7 separate regions of the Homo sapiens genome follow, and all the other regions are linked to region 1. Evidence: promoter capture Hi-C in human tissues and cell types (Jung and others, 2019). All regions are on one chromosome and are shown on one strand. The core of a region is centred on a gene start or on the middle of the fragment in contact, and the rest is flanking DNA. Distances in the headings are between cores, read along the strand shown. Region 1 holds the start of ZNF77 (zinc finger protein 77). Region 2 holds the start of LMNB2 (lamin B2). Region 3 holds the start of NFIC (nuclear factor I C). Region 4 holds the start of LOC105372244 (a long non-coding RNA gene). Region 5 overlaps CELF5 (CUGBP Elav-like family member 5). Region 6 overlaps GNG7 (G protein subunit gamma 7). Region 7 overlaps CELF5 (CUGBP Elav-like family member 5).

Region 1 (2,714 bases), core at 154-2,653:
AAAACGTTCCTCCAAACCTTTTCTTGTGTATGAAAGTAAAGCCTTTTCCTGGTTGATTTTGAGACCTGGCAGGTTTCGGAGGCTGGGGCTTATCCCTATTTTTCTCTCTCCTTCTCTAGCCAGGATTTTTTTTTTTTTTTTTTTTTTTGGTTTTTGTTTTTGAGACGGAGTCTTTCTCTGTCGCCAGGCTGGAGTGCAGCGGCGCCATGTCGGCTCACTGCAAGCTCCACCTCCCAGGTTCACGCCATTCTCCTGTCTCAGCCTCCCTGGTAGCTGGGATTGCAGGCGCCCGCCACCACGCCGGGCTAATTTTTGTATTTTTAGTAGAGACGGGATTTCGCCATGTTGTCCAGGCTGGTCTGGAACTCCTGACCTCAGGTGATCCGCCCGCCTCGGCCTCCCAAAGTGCTGGGATTACAGGCGTGAGCCACCGCGCCCGGCCCAGGATTTTATTATTTGACAGGCTCCAGGACAGGGCACCACCTCCTCCTTGGCAGACCTTCCCAAACTGACCACCAAGCCCCTGACGGCTCCTGCCCTCTCCTCCCACTCTCCCCGATCCCCTGACTGCCTCTACTGTCCCCCAACACATCCCTCGAGCCCGACTCCCTTTACTGTCCCCCCAAACTTCCCTCAAGCCCCTGATCGCCTCTACTGCCCCCCTTAAAGTGCCCCTGAGCCCCTGACTGCTTCTGCTGTCCCCTCGAGCTGCCCCCAAACTCCCGACTGCAGCTACTGTCCCCCTAAACTGCCTTCGAGCCCCTGATCACCTGTCCCCCAAAACTGCCCCTTCAAACCCATGACCGCCTCTACGGCCCCCTCAAACTGTCCCCGAGTTCCTGACCGCTGCTATTGGCCCCCTAATCTGCCCTTGAGCCTGACTCCCTTCCACTGAACCCCCAAACTGCCGCCGAGCCCCTGACCGTGTCTGTTCCCGCAAACTGCCCCTGTGCCCCTTAAACCTCTACTGTCCACTTAAATTGCCTCAAGCCCCTGACCACCTCTGCTGTCCCCACAAGCTCTCCCCAAACTCCTGACCTGTACTGTCCCCAGAAACTACCCCTCGAGCCCCTGACCGCTTTTGCTGTCACCCCAGACTGCCCCCAGCCCTACCCCTCGGCCGCTGTGACCACGTCCCCGGGGCCCAGGCGCTCGTCGTGCGCCGCCCCGCGCGTCCCTCAGCTTTCTCCGGCTGCGAACTCGGGCGGAAGCCGGTTCCTGCCGCCCCACCTCGCCCTGGGCCCGGGCTCGGCTCCCGCCCGGCACTCACCATGTCCCGCCCGCTCCTGGGCTCTCCAGGGTTAGCGCCCCGCGGTCCAGCGACCGGCGCAGGTGAGCACGACAGGACACCTGAGCCGCTCGGGGTAGGCGGGGAAGCGCGCAAGGCAGAGGGGAACTCGGCTTACCGTCCTCGGGGTCTGATTGGACAGATCTCGGGAAGTGGAGACTCTGATTGGACAGTGCTGTCGACTCCGCACCCCTGATTGGAGAATTCTCCAGTCCGTCCCCCTAGCGCCCTTGATTGGGCAGGGCTCCGCTTCGGATTAACGTCTCTGATTGGACAGTTCCCTAGGCCCCGCCCCTGCCTGTCCTGATTGGATAATTCTCTCCTCAGTGACGGGCTCGTCGAGAACACGCGTGGCTGACCCTCTAGCCGGGCAGCCGCGGATCTGGGAGAACTCACTCCAGTCCAGGGAGGGCGCGGCGTCCTCCTCCCTGACTGCACGGCAACTCCAGACTCAGTTTCCCCTCGGAGCGGCCCCTCGTGCGGGGAGGAGAGGAAGGGCACGGAGTCCCATGGGGCGGAGTCCTGCGTGGGGGCGGGACCCGCGTGCGTGACGTCACCGTGCTGTCCCGCGTGGGCGCGGACGCCTGGGGTCCAGAGACCTGGAGATCTGGAGACCAGACGACGAGGCCCCAGGAGGCCGGACCCCACCAGGCGCTCCCTGTGTTCTTAAAACTCTCGGCCGGGCGCGGTGGTTCACGCCGGTAATCCCAGCACCGTGAGAGGCGGAGACCGGCGGATCATCAGAGGTCAGGAGTTCAAGTCCAGCCTGACCAAAATGGCGAAAACCACTTCTCTCCTAAAAATACAAAAATTAGCTGGGCACGGTGGCGGGCGCCTGTAATCCCAGCTACTCCGGAGGCTGAGGCAGGAGAATCGCTTGAACCCAGGAGGCGGAGATTGCAGTGAGCCAAGATCAGGACACTGCACTCCAGCCTGGGCAACAAGAGCGAAACTGAGTCTCAAAAAAAAAAAAAGCAGCCCTCCCACAAACAGAACCACGTAAGGTCATGAAGAGAGAGGTCTCACATTTATATGCTTAATAACGAAAAAGACTCTACAAAAACCACAGGCTTAAACAAAAAATACTTTTACAGGGACACTCAGACTGGTGTGACCCTTGTTACTGATCTTTGTAGACAAGGATAATTATTTCTGAAAAATGATGTAATCCTCATTTAAAATTTTTTTTTTCCTTTATAAACCTTTGTCCCAGTCTGGGCAACATGGCAAAACCCCATATATACAAAAAATACAAAAATTAGCTGGGAATAAAGGAGTGTGCGCCTATGGTCCCAACGACTTGATAGGCTGAAGCAGGAGGATCGCTCGAGCCCGTGGGGATTGAGGCTGCAGTGAGCTGTGATCTCACCATTGTACTCCAGCCTGGGCAACAGAGACCCCCGTCTCAAAAAAATGAAAACCAAAA
Region 2 (2,714 bases), core at 55-2,554, 490 kb before region 1:
ATTCCTGGTCTGCACTTTTCACTCAGTGCCCTAGAAACCCCCTGGAGGTCCCCAAGAGAATGGGCCACTCCGGTCTGCACCCCTCCCAAGGGGTCCCCCAAGATCTCGGAAACTGCGGTGGGCAGGGCCTGCCCAGGTGGCACCCCTCACTCAGGGTCTCCCCCTGGAGATCCCCGAGGCCAGGCTGACCCCACCCCTGCTCAGGGTCCCCCGTGATCGCGTACTCCGCGGTGGGCTGGGCCTGGCCGAGCTGCACCCCTCACTCAGGGACCCCTTGAAACCCCCTGGAGACCCCCAAGCCGGGACCCTTCCCGGTCTGCACCCCTGCCCAGGGTCCCCGCGATCGCGCACCCCGCGGTGGCCAGGACCTGCACCCTTCATCCAGGAGCCCCCCGCAAACCCCCTGGAGACCCCAAGCCGGGAGTCGTTCAGAGTCCCCCGCGATCGCGCGCCCCGTGGTGGGCGGGGCCTGGCCGAGTAGCACCTTTCACTCAGGGACTCTCCGAAACGCGGCGGAGATCCCCGAGGCCGGACTGTCCCCGTCTGCATCCCAGCTCAGGGTTCCCCGCGACTGGGAGCCCCGCAGTGGGCTGGGCCTAGCCGAGCAGCACCCCTCACTCAGAAGCCCCCAAACCTCCTGGAGACCCCCGAGCCGGAGCCTGTCCCCGTCTGCACCCCCGCCCAGGGTCCCCGCGATCACGCACCCCGCGGTGGGCGGGGCCTGGCCGAACTGCACCGCTCACTCAGGGGCCCCTCGAAACCCCCTGGAGACCCTCGAGACCCGGGCCCGTCCCTGTCTGCACCCAGGGTCCCAGCGATTGCCCACCCCGCGGTGGGAGGGACCTGGCCGAGCTGCACCCCTCACTCAGGGGCCCCCCGAAACCCCGCGGAAACCCCCGAAGCCGGGGCCCGTCCCCGTCTGCACCCCCGCCCAGGGTCCCCGCGATCGCGCGCCCCGCGGTGGGCGGGGCCTGCCGGCTGCACCCCCGCCCGGCCCCTAAGCCCCGGCGCCCACCTCGCGCGTGGTCACCTCCTCCTTCTCTGAGATCTTGAGCAGGAGCCGGTCGTTCTCCAGCTCCAGCGCGCGGACGCGGTCGATGTAGTGCGCCAGGCGGTCGTTGAGCTCGCGCAGCTCCTCCTTCTCCTGCAGCCGCGACAGGCGCGTGGGCGACAGCGGCGTGGCGGGCCCGCCCGCGCGGCCGGGCAGCGGCGTGGCCATGGTGGCGGCGGCTCGCGGCCTGCGCTGCTCCCGACGGCGGCCCGGGCTCGGCGGGCTCATTCAATCCGCGCCGCCGGCTGCAAGATGGCGCCGCGCCGCGCCGCGCCCGCCGCCCGCCGCGGCGGGGCAGCCTGGGACTGGTAGTCCGACCGCCGGGCGCGCGCGGGGCACGCCGGAAGTTGAAGTCTCCGTCCAGCTCTCGCTTCGCAGAGGCGCTGACTCCAGAGACAGACTTCCTGGCTGCAAACTCCCAGCTCCGCCACGAGGAAACAGCGTTGGGTTGCTTTCTAGTACCTGTTTCCCCACTTAGAGAACCTCAAAACGTGTTCAAAGAACCAGACACAAAAGGCCATATAGGGCCGGGCGTGGTGGCTCACGCCTGTAATCCCAGCACTTTGGGAGGCCAAGGCCGGTGGATCACTTGAGAAAAGAATTTCGAGATCAGCCTGGACCACATAGGGAGACCCCCCCACACCATCTCTACTACGGAGGCGCGCGCCGGTAATCCCAGCTACTTGGGAGGCTGAGGCAGGAGAATCTCTTGAACTTGGGACGTGGAGGTTGCAGTAAGCCAAGATCGCGGCACTGCACTCCAGCCTGGGCAACAATGAGAAACTTTGTCTCAAAAAAAAAAAAAAAAAAAAAAAAAAGCCATATAGTGTACAATGCCACTGATATAAAATGTCCAGAAGAGGCTGTCAAGGAGTATGAATTTCAACAAATTGAGTTTAATGATCTCATTGGCTCTTATTAGCAATTCATGAATTGGATAGCATTCAATCTATTAAATAGGCACTCCAATGAGCTGAGCAGAGAGGATGGGCATTCTGCATTACAGGCAGAAAAGGCTGAAGAAAGGAGAAATAAGAATTAAAATAAAAGCCAGGCCAGGTACAGTGGTTTGCTCACGCCTGTAATGCCAGCACTTTGGGAGGCGGAGGTGGGAGGATAGCCTGAGCCCAGGAGTTTGAGACTGGCCTGGGCAACATAGCAAGACCCCATTTCTAAAAATAAAAATAAAAAAATTAGCCAGGTGCAGTGGCTCACACCTGTATTCCCAGCACTTTAGGAGGCCAAGCCGGGCAGATCATGAGGTCAGGAGTTCGAGACCAGCCTGACCAATATGGTGAAATCCCGTCTCTACTAAAAATACAAAAATTAGCCAGGCATGGTGGCACATGCCTGTAGTCTCAGCTACTCGGGAAGCTGAGGCAGGAGAATTGCTTTAACCCGGGAGGCGGAGGTTGCAGGGAGCCAAGATTGAACCACTGCACTCCAGCCTAGGCAACAGAGTAAGACTCCACCTCAAAAAAAAAAAAAAAAAAAAATTAGCTGGGCGCCTATAGTCCTAGGTATTTGGGAGGCTAAGGTGGCAGGATTGTTTGAGCAAGAGAGGTCAAGGTTGCAGTGAGCCCTGATCACATCACTGCATTCCAGCCTGGGTGACAGAGTGAGAGTTTGTCTCAAAAAAAGTAAAAATAAAAATACGAAATAA
Region 3 (2,714 bases), core at 104-2,603, 420 kb after region 1:
AGCTTGGTGAGAGGGTATCATTTGTCCTTGGGAAGCTCAGAGAGATGAGGTGAAATGGCCAAGCTTTCTAAGAATGTGTCTTTAGTGAACATTTGACCCAAGGTCAAGGCTCTGCTAAGGTCATTGTCCTTATCCCCAGCAATCCCACAGGATGGGCATCTTTAAGCCACTTTATAGGGGAGAACCCTTGGGATGGGAATGAGAGACACAGCAGCCTCTGAGCTAGCCTGGGAGGATCCAGGGAGTGAACCGGGGGAGGGTTGGGGCCCTGTCATCAGATGCCCTGGGGGCTCAGACGGAGGCAGGCCAGGTCTCTGCCCTGTTACGTCTAGAAGGAGAACAGAATGTGGGCTCCAGGTCCAGATGGCCTGGCTCCAAGCCACACTTGCCATACCTCAGTCTTGAGATCTGTGAAAAGGGCACACCCCTGAGGCAGGTGGAAATTATTGGATACCCAGGGGGAGGCTGCAAGGGTTTATCTGGCCAGCTGGAGATCCCGCCTGGACACCGTCCTCCTGGGGTGCTGGAGAGACACACAGGCGAGGCCACCCCTCCCCTGCCCCTTGGGTGCTGGGTGAAGAGAGCAAATTCTGGAGCCTCCCGTGTTAGCCTGGGCCCTTCTGGCCAAGGAAGGGACAGCTGCACACAAGCCCCTCTAGCTGGGGACCCGCAGCCCCTGCCTGGCTCTGGGGGGAGAAGGGAGCCAGGGTGCTGTGGGACCAGCTCACCGTGCACCCAGGGTCGTACATCTTTAAGGGGAAAGAGGCGCGCTGGCCGGCCTCTGCGCACGTCACTTCTTCATTCCTTCCCTCCCCCCTGGCTCTTTCCTCCAACTTCCCGGCCAGCTCGGGGGTGATGGGGGGGTGGGGAGGGGGGGCCTTAAAAATCCACCCCTGGCCCCTCAATGTCCAGAAACAACCCTGTCCCCCCTCTCCGCTTGATCCGAATTGGGGTCGCCCTGCAGTCCTGGGGTCCTGGTCTAGTGCCCTGGGGCATTGCGTAAATACGGGAGGAGCGGGGGGGTCCTGAGACGTCGGGGGAGGCTCTCCTTTCTCGCTCGCGCCCTTTTTTCCCTCGTTTCTTTGAAAGTTGGGTGTTGAGAAGTGGGAGGTTCGGGGTGGGAGGGGGAGGGTGTCAGAGGGTAGAGAGAGAGACAGAGAGACAGAGACGGGGGAGAGAGGAAGAGAGAGACGGAGGGAGAGAGGGACAGAGAGCGAGGCGGGCGGCGCGAGAGAGGGAGAGCAGGAGGGAGGAGGAGGGAGACCGAGGGAGGAGGCGGCGAGGAGAGCGCGCCGGCCGCGGGGCGGGGGGGGGGGTTGGGGGGGGCGGGGGGGTGGTTTGGAAAAATGACTCAGTAAGTTCAGCGCGCCCGCTCCGGCCGGCCCTGCGCCTCCCGCCGCGCCCGGGATGTATTCGTCCCCGCTCTGCCTCACCCAGGTACGGTCCTCGCCCGGCCCCCCGCCGGCGCCCCCGCGCCCCCCGCATCCCAGCCCCGGAGTTTTGAAGCAGGAGGAGGCGGGACGAAAAAGGCGCGCGTCCCTCCCGCCATCCCTGCCCGGGATGCCCCCCGCGCCGAGGGCTGGGGTCCGGTGGGGGGATGGGTCAGGCTGGGGTACCCCCCCCACACCCTTACCTACCGCGGACCCCCTACGCGGGACTCCCGCCCAGCACCCCCAACCCCGACTCTCGGGACCTCTCCCGGATGTGGGGCTTGGTCTGCAGATTTGCGTCCCCCCCCCACACACCGACGCACTCCGCACCCCCGCCCCGACACTCGGAAAGGTCGGGGTGGGGGCTGGCCCCCCTCCAGCAAGGGCTCTGCGGGAAGCCCCCCGCCTGCCTCTGAGAGGAATCTAGGGGGTCGTGATTGGACCCTGGGTCTCCCCAGCTGGAGAGAAAGGGACCTCTCATGTGTTTTCCCCGTGTCCCCCCACCAAGGTTGTGCGGGCCGCCCTGGCCCTCGGTCGCCTTTCCCTCGTTATTGGCCCACGTGTGCATGGAGGGGGAGGGGGCAGGAGAAGTTGGAGGCCCAGGAGGGGGAAGGGTGCTCCGGCGGCCCGGCTGGGTCCCCCCTCCTTTGCAAGCCCCCCAGCACCGTCCCGGTATTTTCGCTGCATCGATTCTGGATTCTGGATTCTGGATTCTGGAGCCGCCGCCGGGAGGAGCGGGAGGCCCGGCGCTCCGGGTCTGGCCCGGGCACTGCGGCGCTGCGGACGCCCTCGCCAGCCCGGCACCTGCCCCGTCCCCTCCCCCTCCCCCTCCCCCTCCCGTAGCCTCTCACCCCTGGCCGCACTCCCAGACTGCCCCGGGGCCGAGCCTTGTGCAATGGCCGAGGGGGTGTGTGGGGAGGGGGCGGCTCCCCCCGGGGACTCCTTCCAGCCCAGGCTCCCGGGGACCCCGAGGTCTGCAAGTTCCGTTTTCTAGACCGCTGCTTTCCTCCTTACGCAGTGTGTCTTTAGGCTGGAGAGGTTCTGGCCTCAGTTTCCCCTGAAGTGAGGTGCGGCTAAGGCCGGTTCTGGAGAGGGGACAGTATGGCGGGCAAACTGTAAAGTCCCGGCACGTGGGGGGTGCGATTCCAGCGAGGGCCAGGCCCGTCTTAAGAAGCACTGTGTGGGGAGTATATGAGTCCCCGGCTTCCGCTCCAGGGCATGGTGCAGTGAGGGACCCCCCACGCCAGGCATGCTCCTTGGTAGGGTCTTTCTCACCGGCCCCCT
Region 4 (2,714 bases), core at 70-2,569, 360 kb after region 1:
GCACTCCAGCCTGGGCGACAAGAGTGAAACGCCGTCTAAAAAAAAAAAAAAAAAAAAAAAAAAAAAGTAGGAATTACCTAGGTCCGAGTTAGAAAACAGAGAGCCCCTCAACTGTGGCCTCGAAACCACACAGAGGACTGAAGCAGGATGTGTGGGGGTAAAACTGAGGGCCAAATAGGAGCTGAGTCCCGACCAAGGGAGCTGGAGTTCCTCACCTCTGGGTCCTCAATATTTGCTGATTGACTTAAGACATGCATGCCCTTAAGCCTTGCATTCTCTCTCCAAGCTTCAGTTTCCTCATCTGTAAGACGGGGCTCATGAGATATATATATATATATGTGTGTGTGTGTGTGTGTGTGTATATATATATATACACATACATATGTGTGTATATACATATAATGTATATGTGTGTATATATGTATATATACGTGTGTATGTGTGTGTGTGTGTGTATACACATAATTTTTGGTTGGTTGTTTGAGACGGAGTCTCACTCTGTCACCCAGGCTGGAGTGCAGTGGCGCGATCTCAGTTCACTGCAACCTCCGCCTCCCAGGTTCAAGAGATTCTGCTGCCTCAGCCTCCCGAGTAGCTGGGATTACAGGTGCGCGCCACCACACCCGGCTAATTTTTGTATTTTTAATAGAGACAGGGTTTCACCATATTGGTCAGGCTGGTCTCGAATCCCTGACCTCTTGATCCGCCCGCCTCGGCCTTCCTGATCCAACCGCCTCGGCCTCCCAAAGTGCTGGGATTACAGGCGTGAGCCACCACGCCCGGCCTGGGCTCAGGTTATTATGCAAACATCCAGAACTGGGCAGATCAAGATGAATGATACCAATGATACTATCACATTATAGGCAAAATAGGACCTTCTCCCCGGTCAGAAAAGTGAACTCTCAGGCATCACTCCTACTGGAATCCAGAGTCAATAAACATTTATGAAGCACCTACTGGGTACTAGGAGCTGTTGTAGAAAGGTACTGGGGAGAAGGCAGGGAACGAAATGTACAAAAATTCTGACCACGTCCATAGTCCCTGGCCCCGCCCCACTACTTGCCCCAACCCTCACAGGAACAGTTTCCAGCCCCGCCCCCAGCCCCGCCTCCTCTCCACCCCCTCACTTTTCTGAACCTACCAGAGCGAGGTGAAGGGTGAGAGTAATCTACATATTCATGAGGGATCAGCCAATCCACAGCCTGAACTCGGATTTGTCTTCAGAGCCTAGCTGATTGTGACGTCAAGAGTGATGCATTACGTAGCCGGGCGCCGTGGCTCATGCCTGTAATCCCAGCACTTTGGGAAGCCGCGGAGGGCAGATCACCCGAGGTCAGGAGTTCAAGATCAGCCTGGCCAATATGGTGAAACCCCGTCTCTACTAAAAATACAAAAATTAGCCGGGTGTGGTGGCGAGTGCCTGTAATCCCAACTACTCAGGAGGCTGAGGCAGGAGGATCGCTTGAATCCAGAAGGCGGAGGTGGCAGTGAGTGGAGATCGTGCCACTGCACTCCAGCCTGGGCCACAGAGCCAGACTCCGTCTCAAAAAAAATAATAATAATAATAAAGTGATGCATTGCGTGATTTTTAAAGGTGCAGCAACCTCTCATGGTCTCAGTTTGCATATCCGTAAAGTACAGGTTGGGGCGTGCGGGACATAGAAACCAGCGCAGTACGATGACGCTGAAATCGCTTTGCCACCTTGGGTGAAATTCAGGGATACGTTTTGAGCGTTCACTACATGTCAGACACTTTACTCCAGCGGGGGCTCCGGAGTTCCTGCTTAGAATGGGAGCTTCAGCACCGGGGGTCGCGGACAGCTCCCGGCTCTGGTCGCAGGGGCTCCCATGCAGGATGACTGGGGACAAGGGTCTGAGCTTTCTCTGCCTGTCTGTCCTCCATCAAAGCCTCAAATGAACTCAGCCCTAATCTCTGACAGCTAAGGGGTTGCTAGTCAGGACAACACTCTGTCCTTGGTCCCCAATCCTGCTCCTCCCTCGTCGTCTGCATCTCAGCTGATGGCAGTTCCATTCTTTTTTTTTTTTTTTTTGAGACGGAGTCTCGCTCTGTCGCCCAGGCTAGAGTGCAGTGGCGCGATCTCGGCTCACTGCAAGCTCCGCCTCCCGGGTTCACACCATTCTCCTGCCTCAGCCTCCCGAGTAGCTGGGACTACAGGTGCCTGCCACCACGCCTGGCTAATTTTTTGTATTTTTAGTAGAGACGGGGTTTCACCGTGTTAGCCAGGATGGTCTCGATCTCCTGACCTCGTGATCCGCCTGCCTCGGCCGCCCAAAGTGCTGGGATTATAGGCGTGAGCCACCGCGCCCGGCCCGGCAGTTCCATTCTTCCGGGTGCTGGAGCCGAATATCAACGCTATCCTGGATCTTTTGTTTCTTGCTCAACTCCAATCTATCAGCAGGTCCTGTCGCCCCTGCCCTCACTATTCCATCCTCAAACGCTCACTTCTTCCTGTTCCTCTGCCTGGGTCCAGCCCCATCGTTGCCCACCTGGACCTGGCGCAGTTGCCTCTGCCTTGGTCCTAGGCTCCACCCTCTGCCACACAGTCTGTCCTCCCTGCAGCAGCCACCAGAGGGGGGCTGTGAGCACCCGAGTTAGGGCCTGTCCCTCCTCTGCCTACAGCACTCCAAGGCTCCCACCTTCCTCTGGGTCAAAGCCTCCCTGTGACCTATAAGGCTGGCAAGACCTTCCCTGT
Region 5 (2,714 bases), core at 94-2,593, 330 kb after region 1:
GTGGAGCAGAGACCCCAAAAGACTGCAGGGAGGGCATTCCAGGCGGGGGCGCCACCTGGGCAAAGGCCGGGAGATGGGAGCGTGCAGGGCCCGTGGGAGGGTGGAGAGATCCGGGGCAGGGAAAGGGCGCGGCTGGGTCCTCCCTCGCACGCGCAGAACCGGAGCCGGCAGGGCCCGGGCGCCGCGTCTTCCTGCCCTGCCGCCTCCACTCTGCTGGAGGGAGGGAGGAATCCCGGAGGCCCTCCCGGAGGCCGGGGACTCGGCTGAGGTGGGTGTCGCCGCCCACAGGGGACCGGAAGCTGTTCGTGGGGATGCTGAACAAGCAGCAGTCGGAGGAGGACGTGCTGCGGCTGTTCCAGCCCTTCGGGGTCATTGACGAGTGCACCGTGCTCCGGGGGCCTGACGGCAGCAGCAAAGGTGACTGGCGGGGGCCGGGGCGGGACTGCGAGAGGGGCCGGGCTAGCTCTGGGGGCGGGGCCTGTGGGGAGGGTGGGGCCTGCAGCATGGGGAGGAGCTGGCTCTGGGGTGGGACCCTGGGGAGGGGCGGGGCTTCTCCAGGGGTGGAGTCTGTGGGTGAGGCTGCAGGGGCGGGGCCTTGGAGAGGGGCGGAATTGCAGGGGCGGGGCCTGGGGAGGGGATGGGGCTGCAGGGTGGGGAGGAGCTGCCTCTGAGGGCGGGGCCTGTGGGGCAGGGCCCTGGGGAGGGGTGGGGCTTCTCCAAAGGTGGGCCCTTGGGGAGAGGTGTGGCTGCAGGGGTGGGGAGGAGCTGGCTCTGAGGATGTAGCCCTGGAGAGGCCCGAGGCTTCTCCAGAGCTGAAGTCTGTGGGTGAGGCTGCAAGGGTGGGGTCTTGGGTAGGGGAGGTACTGCAGGGAGGGGTGAAATACGTAGAGTTAGGAGGGACTGGCTCCAGGGGGAGAGGCCCTGGGAAGGGTCGGGGCTGAGCATATAGGGGGTGGGGCTGGCCAGGTGGGGCGGGGCCAGGCCAATAGGAGGCTGGGGCTGGCTGGGAGAAGCTGGTTCACAGGGGTTGGGTGGAGCAGAGACTGGTCCCGCTTGATCCTACCTGCATGCTCTCTCTGCATGCTGGCTGTGGGGACGGGCCCTGAAGAGGGGCGGGGCTGCGGTGGGGTGGGCGGAGATGCAGAGGCGTGGCCTTGGGGAAGGGCAAGGCTTCTCCAGGGGCTGCTTATGGATGGGGATGCAGGGGCAGTACCTTGGGATGAGGCGGTGTCTGGTGGGAGGCGGGGGGGCTTCTCCAGGTGCTGCCTGTGAGTAGGGATGCAGGGGCGTGGCTTGTGATGGGGCGGGGTCTGGGGAGGGGCGGGGCTTCTCCACGGACAGAGTTACCTGTGCCCTGTGGTCTCAGATTCCTCCACCTGACTATTCGTAAAACTGTTTCCTCCTGGTTCTGTCTATGTGATTTGTCCATATGACTGACTGGTGGTCTCTGGTTGTGTCTGTCTGTCTATCTTCCTGCCTGAGAGTCCAAATGACGGTGTCTGGCGGTCTCTGTCCACAGAGCTCATCATGTGGGACCGACTCCACTCTGGTCTTTCTTACCTTACTAGAACTGAATGTGTCTGACGGTTTCAGACCATTACCTGGTTCTTCCTTTTTAAAATTGAGGGCTGGGCGTGGTGGCTCACGCCTGTAATCCCAGCACTTTGGGAGGCTGAGGCAGGTGGATCACGAGATCAGGAGTTCAAGACCAGCCTGGCCAAGATGGTGAAACCCGTCTCTACAAAAAATACAAAAATTAGCTGGGCGTGGTGGCAGGCGCCTGTAATCCCAACTACTCGGGAGGTTGAGGAAGAGCATTGCTTGAACCCGGGAGGCAGATGTTGCAGTGAGCCGAGATCACGCCACTGCACTCTAGCCTGGGTGACGGAGCAAGACTCTGACTCAAAAAAAGAAAAAAATTGAGATGTCTTCCACATCCTACCAAATTCACCCTTTAAAAATGTACAATGAAGTGCTTTTTTTTTCTATTCATAAAACCGTGCAACCATCACCACTATGTAATTCCAGAACATTCCACCCCCTCCCTCCACAATATGGCTGGCCCTTCCATAGTACTCTACCAGTCTGGAGCCAGGTGCAGTGGCCTCTGTATGTTCTATGGACTTTGTCGGTGGGACTGTGTTTCCATTCACCTGTGTCTGGTGGTCTCTGTGTGTGTGGCTGTCTGTCTGCATTAGCCTGGCTGGCTGTGTGGGTGACCAGGTCTTTGTCTAACTGTGGCTGTCTGTCTGTGTGATTCTCCTCCATTCTGACCCTTGATCTGGCTGATTGTCCAGCTGTCCGTCTGAGCAAACGGCTGGCTGTCTTTCTGTTATCAGTTCTCTCTGGCTGCATGTGTCTGACACTGGCCATGTAGGTCTCTGTGTCCCCTCTCCTGTGGCCCCCGCTCAGCCAGTCCTGTGACCCCATCACCCTCTACCTCTTCTTCTTCTCTTGGAGCAGGCTGTGCTTTCGTGAAGTTCTCCTCCCACACGGAGGCGCAGGCGGCCATCCACGCCTTGCATGGGAGCCAGACCATGCCGGTGAGTTGGAGCTGCCCTTGGCCGTGGGGGTGGGGGTGGGAAAGGGGTGAGGGGGACAGGGATGAAACAGGCCATATTCCTACCGTCGCTGTCATCCGGTAGCCCCTGGCTGTCCTTCAGAGGGGGCACAGGTGGAGAAAGAGGCGCAGTCCCTGGCTGTGGTCCCTGGAG
Region 6 (2,714 bases), core at 117-2,616, 330 kb before region 1:
CCTCTCCCTGCCCTCTGTGTACCCGCAGGGGGGCCCTGCACGTCGGGTCTCAGGCACATGTGTGGTGAAATGCACACAACAAAAAAGCTCCCTTTCCAGACATCCAGTGGCATTCGTGCAGCCATCATCTCTAGCTAGCTCTAGAACATTCTCAGCCCCCCAAAAAGACACCCCATCCCTATCAGCTGTCACTTCCCATCCCCCTCCCCAGCCCCTGGCACCCACACATCCCCTTCCTGCCTCTCTAGACTGGCCTGTCCTGGACATTTCATAGAAATAGGATGACACACTGTGTGGCCTTTTGGATCTGGCATCTCTCACTGAGTGTGACATCCTCAAGGGGCATCCAGGCTGCACGTGGCCTGGGTCAGAGTCTCGTTCACGGCTGAGTCTCGTTCCAGTGTGTGGAGGGCCACGCTGTTTATCTATTTACCCACGGACGGACACTTGGGTCATTTCCACCTTTTAGCCATTGTGAATCGTACTGTATGAACATTTGTGGCAAGGTTCTATTTGAACACCTGCTTCCAATTCCTCTGGGCAGATAACTAGGAGCGGAATTGCTGGGTCATGTGGCGACTCCGCGTTCAGCCTTTTGAGGAACCACCAGACTGGTTTCCAAGGCGGCTGCCCCATCTTGCATCACACATCAATTCTCAATGCCAAGGCGTTCCTCAGCTTTTAAACAAGGCACTGAGGCAGGAGGCAGGCAGCTGATTGTTGAAGGTCACCCCGTAGCCATTGGCAGAGCCAGAACTTGCAGCTGTGATTTGTGCCGCGGCTCCTGCCCAAGCCCTCCTTCCCTGGCTTCAGTGCTGGGCTGGGCAAGGTGTGTGGAATAGCCCCGCTTTCTAGGCCACTTTCGGGGTACTGGGCGGCCACTGTCTGGTCTGAAGGTGCCATCTGTGACACTCTTTTTTTTTTTTTTGAGACGGAGTCTCGCTCTGTCGCCCAGGCTGGAGTGCAGTGGCGCGATCTCGGCTCACTGCAAACTCCACCTCCCAGGTTCCCACCATTCAGGCTCCCCCAGACCTCCGCCTCCAGGGAGCCCTCCAGAATGTCCTTCCTCCTGCCTTCAATGCTCCTCCCCATCCTGCAGGGGTCGGCAAGGATGTCCTCTCCTTAGAGACCTTCCTGGACACCACGTGGCACAGACTCTGTCCTCTTGGTGCCACCTCATCCTATTTTCTTTGTCTTTTCCGGTTTTTTTTTTTTTTTTTTTTTTTTTTGAGATAGGGTCTTGCTCTGTTGCCCAGGCTGGAGTGCAGTGGTGCAGTCACAGCTCACTGCAACCTCAGCCTCCTGGGCTCAAGTGATCCTCCTGCCTCAGCCTCCAGAGTAGCTGGAACTACAGGCACCCACCACCACGCCTGGCTAATTTTTTTGTATTTTTAGTAGACATGGGGTTTCACCATGTTAGCCAGGATGGTCTCGATGTCCTGACCTCATGATCTGCCCGCCTCGGCCTCCCAAAGTGCTGGGATTACAGGCATGAGCCACCACGCCTGGCCCATCTGTGAGATTCTGAAGAGCCACTGCTGAGCAATTAAGCTGCCCTCTGCAGTGGGAAATTTTCTTTGCAAGGAAGCAGCAAGGCGGAGGAGGCAGGAGGGTTCCCTAAGATTGTGCACCCACGGCAGCCAGCAATGTGCCTGACACAGTGAAGGGCCTCGGCAAAGGGGCGCCTCCTGTCCCCTTCAAATCCTTACGGGCCACCCCAGGATCTGGTGACCTGGAACAGACTCCTGTATGGGCCTTTTTCCCCTGGTGCCAGCAGGGAACAGGGCAGGATGGAAAAAACACCCAGTAGCCAGTGGCCCACTGATGTCACCAAGCTGCAGGGCTGCCCAGCATTGATTAAACACAGCTGGTGTGGGCCAGGCATGGCACCTCACACCTGTGATCCCAGTGCTTTGGGAGGCTGAGGCGAGAGGATCCCTTGAGCTCAGGAGTTCAAAACCAGCCTGGGCAAAATAGTGAGACCCCATCTCTAATTTATTATTATTATTTTGAGCCGGAGTCTCGCTCTGCTGCCCAGGCTGGAGTGCAATGGCACGATCTCGACTCATTGCAACCTCTGCCTCCCGTGTTCCAGCGATTCTCCTGCCTCAGCCTCCCGAGTAGCTGGGATTACAGGCGTGTGCCACCGTGCCCAGCTAATTTTTGTATTTTTAGTAGAGATGAGGTTTTGTCATGTTAGCCAGGCTAGAGACTCCATCTCTATTAAAAAACAAACAAAGAAAGGCTGGGTGTGGTGGCTCATGCCTATAATCCCAGCACTTTGGGAGGCCAAAGCGAGCGGATCACCTCAGGTCAGGAGTTTGAGACCAGCCTGACCAACAGGGAGAAACCCCGTCTCTCCTAAAAATACAAAATTAGCCGGGCATGGTGGCGGGTGCCTGTAATCCCAGCTACTCAGGAGGCTGAGGCAGAATTGCTTGAACCCGGGAGGCAGAGGTTGCAGGTTGCAGTGAGCCGAGATCACGCCATCGCACTCCAGCCTGAGCAAAACCCCATCTCAAAAAAAAAAACCAGACAAATATAGCTGGTGGGTTCTTGGGCAAGGCTGGTGACCAGGGCCCTAGGGGAGGATGTTTCCAAGAGCTGCCAAGAGCAGTGGGGCCCGGGTTCTGCCCGCCTCTTCCTCTGACTGTTTCCTCATCTGGGGTCACGGGATAAGTGCAGCTCCGCCTCCCTGGTCATGCAGGTGACTG
Region 7 (2,714 bases), core at 114-2,613, 300 kb after region 1:
TCCAGTCCCTTCTTCGTGCTGGCCCCAGGAGGCTCTTTCCCGCACACACCTCTGACTATGCCCAACCCCTGCTCAAACACCTTCCATGGCTCCCCACTGCCCTTGACATCAGTCCAGCAGTTCTTTGCCTGTTTCACCCTCATCTGTCCCCTCCAATGGCATCCCCCATCTCCTGCAACACACTTTTTTTTTTTTTTTTGAGGCAAGAGTTTTGCTCTGTTGCTCAGGCTGGAGCGCAGTGGCGAGATCTCGGCTCACTGCAAACTTTACCTCCCAAGTTCAAGTGATTCTCCTGCCTCAGCCTCCTGAGTAGCTGAGTAGCTGGAATTATAGGTGCACGCCACCACACCTAGCCAATTTTTGTATTTTTAGTAGAGACGGGGTTTCATCATGTTGGCCAGACTGGTCTTGAACTCCTTACCTCAAATGATCCGCCTGCCTCTGCCTCCCAAAGTGCTGGTATTACAGGCATGAGCCACTGCACCTGGCCCTTCTTTTTCTTTCTTTCTTTTTTTTTGAGATGGGGTCTCACTCTGTCATCCAGGCTGGAATGCAGTGGCATAATCTCAACTCACTGCAACCTCTGCCTCCCGGGTTCAAGAGTCATTCTTGTGCCTCAGCCTCCTACGTAGCTGGGACTACAAGCATGAACCACCACACCCAGCTAGTTTTTGTATTTTTAGTAGAGAGGGGGTTTCACCGTGTTGGCCAGGCTGGTCTTGAACTCCTGACCTTAGGTGAGCCACCTGCCTCGGCCTCCCAGAGTGCTGGGATTACAGACGTGAGCCACTGCGCCCGGCCCTACCACACACTTCTGAAAGCCTATGTTCCACACACCAGGCAGGCTCTTGTTCTATGGCCCCAGCTCCAAGAATCATCCTTCAGGAAGCCGTCTCCAAGCAGAACCAGGTTGCCTTCAGAGCGTCCCCAGCCCTGCCTTTCTCTTGGCCCGGGCTGACCACACAGGGTGTGGAGGGGACAGGAGTGTCAGGCTCTGCCTCCTCCTAGCAGGAGGATCACAGAGAATCACTTCCCAAAAAAGAGCATTTTCCTGGGCTGGAGACTGGAGTGTCCTTTTGGGCTGAGGTCCCCAGCTGCCCGGGCTGGAGAAACTTATCCATTGAGCAGATCTCATGTTCCCCAAGGATCCCCCACCTTGATCCCCAATGTACCCTTGGTACCCTTGGGTCTCGAGAGATTTGTGTGCAGTGCATTGTCTATGAACTTGAAGATCAGTTCTTTTTTTTTTTTTTTGAGGCGGAGTCTTGCTCTGTCACCAGGCTGGAGCGCAGTGGCACCATCTTGGCTCACTGCACCCACCAACTCCCTGGTTCAAGCAGTTCTTCTGCCTCAGGCTCCCAAGTAGCTGGGATTACAGGCACGAACCACCACGCACAAGCCACCGCGCCCAGCTAATTTTTTTTTTTTGTATTTTTACTAGAGATGGGGTTTCACCATGTTGGCCAGCATAGTCTCTATCTCCTGACCTTGTGATCCACCCGCCTCTGCCTCCCAAAGTGCTGGGATTACAGGTGTGAGCCACCGCGCCCGGCCTAAAGATCAGTTCTTGTCCAGGCTTTGAAAATAGGGTGGGTGCAGATTGCCAATCACTGAGCATTCTGAACCATTGATCCCAGGTGGGACTTCCCTGTCTACCCCCTCCAGAACCCCAAGGCTCTCCAGGTGTGCAGCAAGGCTGCACACCTGCCTCTGGTGCCCTTGCCATCTGGGGCAGGTGTGTGGGGTGGGAGTGGCTGGGGCTGGGACACGGTGAGAGGCTCACCTGGCGTGGGTGGGGGATAAGCTGTGGCTCAGGCTGAGGCTTCCTTCAGGGGATCCCTCTGGGTCTAGGATGCAACCAACCAGAGCTCTCACAGTTGAAATGGGATCCACAGGGCCCTCAGCATTTGATCCAGCCCCGTGTTTCTGACAAAGGTGGCACTAGTTTGTTGTTGTTGTGTGTTTGTTTGAGACAGAGTCTCCCTCTTGCCCAGGCTGGAGTGCAGTGGCGCGACCTCGGCTCACTGCAACCTTATCTCCCGGGTTCGAGCAATTCTCCTGCCTCAACCTCCCGTGTAGCTGGGACCAGAGGCGCGCGCCGCCACGCCCAGCTAATTTTTGTGTTTTTAGTAGAGATGGGGTTTCACCGTGTTGGGCAGGCTGGTCTCAAACTCCTGACCTCAGGTTATCCACCTGCCTTGGCCTCGCAAAATGCTAGGATTACAGGCATGAACCACCATGCCCGGCCCAAGGTGGCACTATTTTAAGGTTATTTCTAGGGAAGCAGGTACGGCAAGAGGCTGTGTTCTTCCTCATATTCCTTGGGGGAGAATTTTGGAAAAGATGCGAAAGCCAGGCAGTGGATCTCAGCTGTTAGTGCATGGTCTGCAGAGCTAGACTACCTAGATTTAAGCCCTCGACATTTGGCCGGGCACGATGGCTCGCACCTGTAATCCCAGTGCTTTGGGAGGCTGAGGCGGGCAGATTACTTGAGGTCAGGAGTTCAAGACTAGCCCGGCCAACATGGTGAGACCCCGTCTCTACTAAAAAATACAAAAAATTGGCTGGGTGCAGTGACTCATGCCTGTAATCCCAGTACTTTGGGAGGCTGAGGTGGGCGGATCACTTGAGGTCAGCAGTTCAAGACCAGCCTGGCCAACATGGTGAAACCCTGTCTCTACTAAAAATACAAAAAAATGGCCGGGCGCAGTGAC

The links. Contacts are between HindIII fragments. The study calls those that stand out against the background at their distance.
Region 2: a contact is called between the fragment with the promoter of LMNB2 here and the fragment with the promoter of ZNF77 in region 1, in 2 of the 25 tissues and cell types used here (dorsolateral prefrontal cortex and spleen).
Region 3: the fragment with the promoter of NFIC here is called in contact with the fragment with the promoter of ZNF77 in region 1 in 3 of the 25 tissues and cell types used here (aorta, dorsolateral prefrontal cortex and lymphoblastoid cells).
Region 4: a contact is called between a fragment that was not itself captured here and the fragment with the promoter of ZNF77 in region 1, in 2 of the 25 tissues and cell types used here (H1 embryonic stem cells and dorsolateral prefrontal cortex).
Region 5: a fragment that was not itself captured here is called in contact with the fragment with the promoter of ZNF77 in region 1 in 2 of the 25 tissues and cell types used here (dorsolateral prefrontal cortex and lymphoblastoid cells).
Region 6: a fragment that was not itself captured here is called in contact with the fragment with the promoter of ZNF77 in region 1 in 1 of the 25 tissues and cell types used here (adrenal gland).
Region 7: a fragment that was not itself captured here is called in contact with the fragment with the promoter of ZNF77 in region 1 in 1 of the 25 tissues and cell types used here (mesenchymal stem cells).

What each region holds. Positions count from the first base shown.
Region 1 is chr19:2,943,568-2,946,281 of GRCh38, forward strand. ZNF77 (zinc finger protein 77) reads right to left here and starts at 1,404. Exons shown (of 4, transcript NM_021217.3): 1 at 1,271-1,404. The coding sequence starts at 1,273. RefSeq lists silencers at 1,100-1,179, 1,320-1,569 and an enhancer at 1,640-1,799. The HindIII fragment of the contact is 6,632 bases long and covers 1-2,714 here.
Region 2 is chr19:2,455,655-2,458,368 of GRCh38, forward strand. LMNB2 (lamin B2) reads right to left here and starts at 1,305. Exons shown (of 12, transcript NM_032737.4): 1 at 1,016-1,305. The coding sequence starts at 1,279. RefSeq lists an enhancer at 1-33 and silencers at 294-473, 704-793, 854-1,103, 1,224-1,403. The HindIII fragment of the contact is 70,551 bases long and covers 1-2,714 here.
Region 3 is chr19:3,365,230-3,367,943 of GRCh38, forward strand. It overlaps NFIC (nuclear factor I C), which reads left to right and starts at 1,354. Exons shown (of 11, transcript NM_001245002.2): 1 at 1,354-1,437. The coding sequence starts at 1,408. RefSeq lists silencers at 983-1,072, 1,523-1,672, 1,963-2,362. The HindIII fragment of the contact is 27,364 bases long and covers 1-2,714 here.
Region 4 is chr19:3,305,708-3,308,421 of GRCh38, forward strand. LOC105372244 (a long non-coding RNA gene) reads right to left here and starts at 1,195. Exons shown (of 3, transcript NR_187753.1): 1 at 1,142-1,195. The HindIII fragment of the contact is 7,399 bases long and covers 1-2,714 here.
Region 5 is chr19:3,275,568-3,278,281 of GRCh38, forward strand. CELF5 (CUGBP Elav-like family member 5) reads left to right here. Exons shown (of 13, transcript NM_021938.4): 4 at 289-417; 5 at 2,464-2,543. Among named protein-coding and RNA genes, the nearest start is that of CELF5, 52 kb to the left of the region's middle. RefSeq lists silencers at 76-205, 436-735. The HindIII fragment of the contact is 8,579 bases long and covers 1-2,714 here.
Region 6 is chr19:2,614,252-2,616,965 of GRCh38, forward strand. All of the region lies in intron 2 of GNG7 (G protein subunit gamma 7), which reads right to left. Among named protein-coding and RNA genes, the nearest start is that of MIR7850, 15 kb to the right of the region's middle. The HindIII fragment of the contact is 8,165 bases long and covers 1-2,714 here.
Region 7 is chr19:3,239,827-3,242,540 of GRCh38, forward strand. All of the region lies in intron 1 of CELF5 (CUGBP Elav-like family member 5), which reads left to right. Among named protein-coding and RNA genes, the nearest start is that of CELF5, 17 kb to the left of the region's middle. The HindIII fragment of the contact is 4,011 bases long and covers 1-2,714 here.